Regions from separate parts of the Homo sapiens genome. Here regions 2 and 3 are each linked to region 1. Evidence: promoter capture Hi-C in 16 types of primary human blood cells and fetal thymus (Javierre and others, 2016). All regions are on one chromosome and are shown on one strand. The core of a region is centred on a gene start or on the middle of the fragment in contact, and the rest is flanking DNA. Distances in the headings are between cores, read along the strand shown.

The links. The method cuts DNA at HindIII sites, captures the fragments that hold promoters and counts their contacts. A CHiCAGO score of 5 or more calls a contact.
Region 2: a fragment that was not itself captured here is called in contact with the fragment with the promoter of KDM8 in region 1 in 2 of 17 cell types (activated CD4 T cells and total CD8 T cells); the score reaches 5.3 in activated CD4 T cells.
Region 3: a fragment that was not itself captured here is called in contact with the fragment with the promoter of KDM8 in region 1 in 1 of 17 cell types (monocytes); the score reaches 5.2 in monocytes.

Annotation. Positions count from the first base shown.
Region 1 is chr16:27,202,268-27,205,210 of GRCh38, forward strand. It overlaps KDM8 (lysine demethylase 8), which reads left to right and starts at 1,259. Exons shown (of 8, transcript NM_024773.3): 1 at 1,259-1,369. RefSeq lists an enhancer at 1,304-1,463. The HindIII fragment of the contact is 9,655 bases long and covers 1-2,151 here.
Region 2 is chr16:27,484,286-27,487,383 of GRCh38, forward strand. GTF3C1 (general transcription factor IIIC subunit 1) reads right to left here. Exons shown (of 37, transcript NM_001520.4): 24 at 1,712-1,869; 25 at 1-68. Among named protein-coding and RNA genes, the nearest start is that of IL21R-AS1, 32 kb to the left of the region's middle. The HindIII fragment of the contact is 9,490 bases long and covers 1-3,098 here.
Region 3 is chr16:27,556,345-27,559,444 of GRCh38, forward strand. The region is part of intron 1 of KATNIP (katanin interacting protein); the gene reads left to right. Among named protein-coding and RNA genes, the nearest start is that of KATNIP, 7.8 kb to the left of the region's middle. The HindIII fragment of the contact is 5,731 bases long and covers 1-3,100 here.

The DNA of each region.
Region 1 (2,943 bases), core at 9-2,508:
ATTCTTTGCAGTAAACTTTTTTCCACAACACAAAAGGGTGAGAGCAATTCCTTTTTACTTTTTTCCGGGGACACAAGACTCAGGGAAAATTCAACATTGTCACTACTCAAGGGTGGAAACTTAGTGTAGCACATAACCATGAGGATTCTAAACCTGTGGCTGCTGAGTTCAAACACCAGCATCCCAGTGAGCCTGGTGGGTTAGGAGATCTTTCTGTGCTTTACTTGCTCCCTCCCTGATATGGTTTGGCTGTGTCCCCACCCAAATCTCATCTTGAATTGTAGCTCCCATAATTCCGTGTTGCGGAAGGGCCCAGTAGGAGATAACTGAATGATAGGGGAGGTTCCCCTCATACTGTTCTCCTGGTAGTGAATATGACTCATGAGATCTGATGGTTTTATAAGCGGTTTCCCTTTTCACTTGGTTCTCATTATCTCGTCTTCCACCATGTAAAACGTGCCTTTCACCTTCCACCATGATTTTGAGGCCTCCCCAGCCATGTGGAACTGTGAATCCATTAAACCTTTTTGTTTGTAAATTGCCCAGTCTCGGGTATGTCTTTATCAGCAGCATGAAAGCGGACTAATACACTCCCTAAAATGGGGATGAGCATGATCATTACAATAGCTACGATCCTCATATTTTTAAAGTATTTTAGCACCGTACCTAGAATCCACTAATCTATGAACTGATCCTGAGCAAGCCTGTTTCCTACTCAGACCCCAAGCTCAGTACGAACATAACTTTCCATGCCTCTGTGCAATGCTGCAAAAGGCGTGCATACTTGGAGTCCACAGGAGTGTGTGCTCAAAACACAAAAGTCCCAGTGACCACGCACCACTCGGCATCAAAGCAAAGGTGGCAGGAGTGTGTCCCCTGGCCACTTGCCTTCTCACTCGAACAGACTGTGGATGCAGCACTTGCTCGTGGGTAATTGTGGATCTGACTTTCCAAAAGTACAAGTATGTGGCCACTTTAATCACTGAGCCTCAGTTTCGCTCTCTGTAAAATAGGGAGAACTAATAATCCTAGCTGCAGAGATTAAATGGTGGATGCAAACAGCCTTGTACGAAGTTGTTATCTGTGCAGAGGAAAAAGCGGTATCACTAGCGTGGAAGGACCCAGAGGATACAGCCAAGCCTTTCTGTCTTCTCCATCCCCCGGCCTTTTAAACAGCAGTGGGGCGGGGCCACGGCATCGATCACTCGGCGCTCCTCCAGGCACTGCGTCGTGATCAGACGAGCGGTGAGCGATCGATACTCCTATGCTAGCCTCTGGCTCCTCAGGGGACACAGCCGAGTGGTCGGACCAAACGCAACGAGTCTTCGCCAGCCCAAAGGCGACTCGACACCGTCCCAGCTGAAGAGAGGTTAGTCTGAGCAACTCGAGAGCGGAGTCAGCTCCAGTTCCTCAGAAGTGGAGAGGCCGGGTTCAGAGGCATAGACCGCGCAGGCGTCATGTGAAGCAGCCAAGCCCGGCCTCGCGCGTGCGCCTTGGAAAACCCCGAGGGTGGCTCGAGTTGCCGCATGCGCTCTGAGAATGCAATTTAGCTCGTCGCCGGCCTGCCCTGCGGGAGGATAAAGGGAAAGGTTCCGCGCGTGCGTATGCTCGTCTCTTGGCAGTGGTTTTGCGCATGCGTGAGGGCAGGCCCTTACGGCGGGCTGCTGTGCGCTTTAGCGGTTCTTGGCGTCGCGTTGGTGTAGGCCTAGTGCGCCTGCGCGGGTTTTATACTCTGCTATATGTGTGTCCGCTGCTTTTAGGCAACCAGCCGCTGCCCCTGGGCCGCAAGGCAGGCTGGAAACGATTCCGCCGTCAGGTCCCAAATATGAGCCGCGAGAAATGCAGCCCCGGGGAAGGCGCTGAGGAGGGAAGGGGGTCTGAGGCCTCGGGGCTCAAGGCCAGTGCGGGGTACGGGGGACCCTCTGGGGCCTGGGTGTGTGACTGCCCTAAGGAAAGGTGCTTGTAGCTCGGTAGGACTTAACGATGGGCATCGGTGCGTTTCCCGGCAACGGTAGGAATCGCCGTGCTCAGGAGGACTCGGGAGCAAGCCCGGGGACAGGAGGTGCGCAGGCGTTGGGGCCACACGGACGACCCAAACACAAGACTGTGTGCCCCTTAGAGAGCCAAAGGGATCCCTGTGCCATGAATTAAAGCTTTCTGGAAAATGTTCCAAACTTTCCTGGGAAGTTTTACGAAGCTCTTGTTTTTGCACAATTTTTGTGGAATACTGCCATAATAACATTGAGGAGATTAGAGAACTGGACCGCCTGTTCCCAGAAAGCTAGGTGTAGGCTGATCTGTCCTGGAAGCCCCTTTTGGGAGGCTTTCTCATGACCAGCATGGTGCTTGCAGAGTGCCCACCCTGAGACCCTCTGCAAATCACAGTGAGGCTCTCGGAGAGGCCATTCCACCCAGCCACCTTAAAGAATACTCAGGGAGGTGCTTTAGAGGAGTTGATGTTTAAAAATAATTTAAGGCTGGGCGCGGTGCCTCACACCTGTAATCCCAGCCCTTTGGGAGGCCGAGACAGGCCGATCACTTCAGGTCAGGAGTTCACAAGACCAGCCTGACCAACATGGCGCAACCCCGTCTCTACTAAAAATAAAAAATTAGCTGAGTGTGGTGGTGCACATCTGTAATCACAGCTGCTTGGGCGGCTGAGGCAGGAGAATTGCTTGAACCTGGGAAGCGGAGGTTGCAGTGAGCCAAGATTGGGCCAGTGCACTCCAGCCTGGGTGACAGAGCGAGACTCCGTCTCAAAAAAAATAATAAAAATAATTTGAGAGAATCCTAGGATGACAGGGCAGTGGCTTCCAAGAGGGATATATCCCATAACCTACCAGGGACCTACTTTGCCAGTTTGCATAGTGAATTCTGCCTGGATGGTGAATTTATAAAGTCCAGGCCTGAGTCTATTCCGGCTGTTTTATACAGGTTATACTT
Region 2 (3,098 bases), core at 364-2,863, 280 kb after region 1:
AAAGACTCTTCAAACGTGGCATGCAAAATGTCCCGTACCACCTGCCAGGTGACAAATGGGCCCTTCACCTGGATCAAACACAGAGCCAAGACAAAAAGTCAGTATCCTCAGAGACGACATCATGGGGAATTACCATAAAAAAGTGGACAAAATGTGTTTTGTGCAGCCTCCTTCCTCAGAGAATCCCCACAACTGTCACCTCACAATATTTACTGGGCCCACCATGTGCCAGACACTGAGGGAGATTCTGGGCAGACAAGTATAGGACGAGGCCTCAGTGACCAGCGGGAAAGAGTGTATTTTAGCAAGCGCCATGTGTGACAAAGGTGCCCAACGGGGCGGGGGGGAACTGCCTGAAAGGGCGCTGTATTAGAGGGAATCATGGGGATGCAAAGTGTGTTTAGTTAGAGGTCTTAGTGTCCTAATTATGCATCATGTGTGCTCAGAAACGTTCTGTATGTTGTGCTTGTATGTTATGTTAGTAGAAGCAGAATGTACAAAATTAGCAGACCCAGGAGAACATCTTGGTCAATAACACAGGAAGGCAAGGCCGACATGAGAAAGCCGCTTGACGAGTTATTTTCTTACATCCCCAAGGATGAGGTGACCCAAAAAGTCTGTAAGTTCTGGTAAGCGGCGAGAGTCCATCAACACTGACCTATGCAGGACCCTCCTGCCTCCTCCAGCTGCACCAGAGCTGGAGCAGATGGAGGGACGCCCCACTTACCCATCAGCTCTGCAATGACGAAGCCATTGCAGATGCAGGGAACAGAAATTAGGGATGGCAACATGTCACCTTTCAGGTTCTTCCTTGGAAAAGAGGTTGGGATGGAATTCAGGAGAGGACTGAGGGATGAGAGAACAGGGGACAAGCGGTCAAGACAAGGGATCTAATAGTTGGCAGGCAAGGAGCATCTGGGCACAAAGCCCCAGCTGGGTTTCTCCTGCCTGGCCTGGCTGAGACCCGGAGGCACACCCGGGCTCCTCCAAAGCTGCCTTGTGGCACTACTGCCTGGAAGGGGCCCTGGACTGGACTGGCAGAGCTTTTTCCTGGAAGGCAAATAAGAGGTCTCGCTGCCTTGTGGACCAGCCACGCCGGTGAGCCAAGAGGTACCAGAGGTGACAGAAACAGCATGAGAAGTATCCGGCCAAGAACAGAGAATGAGCAGGGTAATTACGCCCAATTGGCAGATCATTCCGGACATGATGGGCAGTTACAGGAAGGTAAATTGGAGCTTTTCAGGCAATGAAGGTGGGAGGAAGGAGCAGGCCAGGGTTAGACTACTGGTGAGGAGAGAGAAAGAACAGCTCTGAACTAGTTTGCCTGCAGCTAGGCAAACATTTATATGTATGCAGCTGAAAGCTAAAAAGAAATGTAGAAAAACAGAATGGTATTAATTTGTAGGATTAGCTGGTCATGGCAGGGTGCGCCTGTAGTCCCAGGACTATGAGAGGCTGAGGTGGGATCACTTGAGGCCAGGTTGAGGATGCAGTGAGCTGTGATCGTGCCACTGCACTCCAGACTGGGTGAAAGAGCAAGGCTCCATCTTTCTAAAAAAGAAAATGTGTAGGATTCTGGGCAATGCTTTTCCCAGTGGCGAAGCAGAGCAGCTGAGAGGAGTGGTCTCTGGCTGGGAGTCCCCGGAAGGCTCAGACAGGAAGGAGCTCCGAGTGAGGGGCAGGCCCACCGCTGGGCTGGGCTGGTTGGTACCTTGGTGTTGAGGACATTGCTGGCAATGCGGCACAGCACAAGCAGCCCATCCTCCTGCATAGACCAGGTGACACGAAGCCGCGTCATCCGCTGCAGGGCACTCTGGTCGGCTTCATCATGGTAGCGCAGCCTTTTGCTTTTTTCTCCTGGGAACTCTCCTAAAAACACCAGAGGGAGAAGGCAGGAGACCTCTAACACCTGGTTTGGAGCTGTCACTCTGCAGAGGGGCAGGTTCCCTACCCAGCCAGTGAGATGTGACTAATGGTATTGGTTAGCAGATACTCATTGTATCTAAAGTCACATAAACTAACTGCAAAAGACCCAGCCCCTTCTGATAGATTTTATTTTTTTTTAAATCCCTTTCATCATTTATCTTGATCAAATTTCACAGCAACAGGTTGGAAGGCTCAATGCAGCCTCTAGTTGGTTATCTGCCAATCTCCAATCTCCCCCACTGTGACAGAGTCCTTTGAAGGCATCTTGTACAGAAGCCTACAGTGCGTGCTCGGGGCGTACCCACCGAGTGAGCAGGACCAGGGACTGTGCAGTCACCAGGCCCCCACGCTCCCTTGCTCTGTGACCACACGGGCGTTGTGTAGACTTGAGTGCATCTGGGGACAATAAGGCCTCTGCTCCAGGGCCATGGAGAGGGTGGAAGGAGACTGCATATAAAACATCCAGCACACAGTGGTGGCTACTAAATAACTAACATCAGCAGTGAGATCGGTGTAGTTAATAACTAAACAGCACCACCACCACCAAAACAGCAGTCTAGCATCAGGGAATATTCATTGTGTGCCTAGCACTGGTTTATGCTTTTTCAACATATTATCTTATAATTAGAATACTACTTTATAGCAACCTTATGAAATGGATACAATTGTTATCACTGTTTTTTGTTGAGGAACACAGAGACATACAGTGACTTGCTGAAGTCACACAGCTGAGTCAGCAACAGAGGGAGGATCTGAACCTTGAGAGCGTAGCCACAGGGCTGCCAAGGTCTCCTGCCCAGGGGAGGTACTGATAGCACCTTCACAGGACAGACACCATATGCCACTGCCAATCTCAAAAGACTGTTTAGCGAGTGTCTTCCAAATTAAGGCAGAAGAAAAGTGGGGAAAGGAAATTTGGACTCGAAGTGACACCACCACATTTTGCATTGTGATGAATTCAGGTTTTTAAGCCAAATTGGTCTTACACATATCTACGACAGGCGAAACTGAGGGGGCCATTTCAACTGATGGAATGCTATTTGTTATGAACGCCAGCCAAATAAACCACTAAAAACAGGTTCCTGTTTAAACATTCTGTCTTTAACTGAAATAGCTACCAGCCGTCAGTGGCTGCTGTTAAAACTTGTGGACCACTTAGGCAATATGAAAGT
Region 3 (3,100 bases), core at 503-3,002, 350 kb after region 1:
ATGAAAATGTTCGCCTTTCTGTTAAAGTTGAATTTTCCCCAGTACTTTAAAAATATGAAATGGTTTAGGAAAAAAAATTCTATTTCATTTTCAAGGAACATAATAATTAGACAAAAGTTCAGCACATTGATATAATTAGAAAGGATTTGGAAGTTGTTCATTTGCTTTTCACTGCTCCCCTAGAGCAAATATTCAACATTTCCCTTGTTTATACTGTTCATTTGCTTAGCAAACTTTCTCAAATAATTAATAATGCCAAGATGATATTTAGCCTCACTTGTCCAAATAATCCCAGACTGCAAACAGGTGATGGTTGAATTAGGAAGGTTTTGCTGAGAGTACACCATCGGTTTAGCTGGTCTCTCCTGTCCTTGTGTGGTATTTACCTGGCTTCTTGGTGATTTGTCTGTTTCTCTTACTACTTAAACCCAGCAAAAAAAATAATAAAATAACAATCAAATGCAATAAAACAAAGCAAGCATTCAGCAGGTGAAATAAACATACATCCCATAGACTCTTTGTGTCTGTTCTGTTTTCTTCTTGTTCCAATCCTTCTATCTGATTAGTTTCTTTTCTCTCAGATTTTTTCAGAGTTCGTTCCTCCTGTCACTTTAACTTATAGGAAGTCGGCCCATAATGTTTTGCTTATTTTTCCTTATGAGATTCATTCCATGATTCAACATTTCAGTGCCTTCCGTGCATTGGAATTCAGAGATGCCAAAATGAGTAAGATTGAATCCAGGTGAAGGCGATATGGGAATTCATTGTACTATTCTTGACATTTTTCTGTGAAGTTGATTTTTTTTTTTTTTTTTGAGGTGGAGTCTCACTTTGTAGCCCAGGCTGGAGTACAGTGGCGCGATCTTGGCTTACTGCATCCTCCGCCTCCCGAGTTCCAGTGATTCTGCTGCCTCAGCCTCCTGGGTAGCTGGGATTACAGGCACATGCCACCACGCCCAACTAATTTTTGCATTTTTAGTACAGACGGGGTTTCACCATGTTGCCCAGGCTGGTCTCGAACTCCTGACCTTAGGTGATCCAACCCTACCCCTTGGCCTCCTAAAGTGCTACGGTTACAGGTGTGGATTTTTTTTTTTTTTTTTTTGAGACAGAGTCTTGCTCTGTTGCCCAGGCTGGAGTGCAATGGTGAGATAACTCACTGGTGCGTCCATCTCCTGGCTCAAGCGATCGTCCCATGTCAGCTGTCCAAGTAGCTGGGACTACAGGTGTGTGCCACCATGCCCAGCTAATTTTTTATTTTTTGTGGAGATGGGGGTCTTGCTATGTTGTCCAGGCTGGTCTCCATCTCCTGAGCTCAAGTGATCCTCCCACCTTGGCCTCCCAAGTTGCTAAGATTACAGGCATGAGCCACTATGCCTGGCTGGAAATGAATTCTTTATATCAGAGCTTGCACAAGTGGGCTGAAACAGCCCACATGCATGTTTATTTGGCTCATAATGTTTTGTTTTTTAAATTTTTGAATTAGTTGTCAACATTGAAAAATGAGCAGATTTCTTATAAATACCTGATTGTGGTATTTTCTTGAAAATATCAATAAAGTCTGTTAACACCAAATCAGAATTCTGCATGGCAACAATTGTCCCACCACCCGAGTTAAGTGGAGACTTTGCCCTTTAAGAGGGAGGTGGGCCTGTCTAATGACTGGCTTCTCTCATTGTGTCTGTCACTCCTAGGCCTGTCAGCATTTGTACTTAGAATTCTACTTTAGTATTAACTTGTACAGTTGTGAAAACTCCTGTGGACTTCCTTGTATGCCATACTGGACTATACTTATTCTTTTTGTTTGTTTTTTTGTTTTTAGATAGAGTCTTGTTCTCTCACCCAGGCTGGAGTGCAGTGGTGCGATCTCAGCTCACTACAGCCTCTGCCTCCTGGGTTCCAGTGATTCTCCTGCCTCAGCCTCCTAAGTAGCTGGGATTACAGGTGTGTGCCACCACACCTGGCTAATTTTTGTATTTTTAGTAGGGATGGGGTTTCATATGTTGGCCAGGCTGGTTTCGAACTCCTGACCTCAAGTGATCTGCCTGCCTTGGCCTCCCAAAATGCTGGGATTACAGGCATGAGTCACCATGCCCAGTTTCTTTTTGTTTTAATCTGAAAAAAAGGGAATATATTATCTGCCTTTAGAAACTTCATAGTATGGTGAGAAAGCAGACATAAACAGATGACTACATTTCAACATGGGAGTCCTTAGAAGATAATATTTGTAGAGGTCTTCCCCTTTCCCAAAGCAGTGTGGCCCACTGCCTGCTATTGTAAATAAAGTTTTATTGGAATGCAGCAGCACCCTTTCACATACATATAGTCCATGGCTGTTTTCTTGCAGAGTTGAGTAGTTGTAAAAGAGACTTATGTGGCCCACGGGCCAAAAATATTTACTATCTGGGCCTGTACAGGAAACGTTTGCTGACTGTTGCCGTGGCAGATCTGATTTGATTCCTGAGACAGCTCAATGGGATACTGTGATTGTGTCTGTTTTATACCACACACCTAGTAGGTAGCAGAGCCAGGACTCAGTCGAATAAGGTCTACACTTGGTAGTATGTTATGGAAGGCCCATTTCAGCCTTGTTACTGCCAGTGTGTGGCCAGGTTCTCACACCTGGAGAGTGAGTCTGTGGGGAAGAACTGGCCACTGGGCTGATGGAATAATATACATTTTGAAAGGTACCCGTTTTGACTACATTCCCAGCTCCCTCAGCATCTGGTCCCATGACTGCTTCTCTCTTTCCAAATGGGAGTAGGCTAATGCAGAGCAATGTGGTTGGTTGCAAGGAAGAACTTGAAACTGTTTGCAGAGCACTTTATGTAAAAGTAAGAAAGTGTGACTACTGATGTCCCATGGGGCTTTGCAGCTTTAACAATTGCCCTATGGATCATATCACCTTGAAGTATAGAATTTCTCTGGGGAATTAGCTCCCCTCCAGTCTCATCTTTTTAGACACTTGCCTACCTGCTCTCACACCCAGAGGTTTTACACTGCGCTGTACAGTGTCTATCAATATGTTTTTCCATATTCAAAAATAGTGATTTCAGGCCAGGCATGGTGGCTCATGCCTGTAGTCCTAGCACTTTGGGAG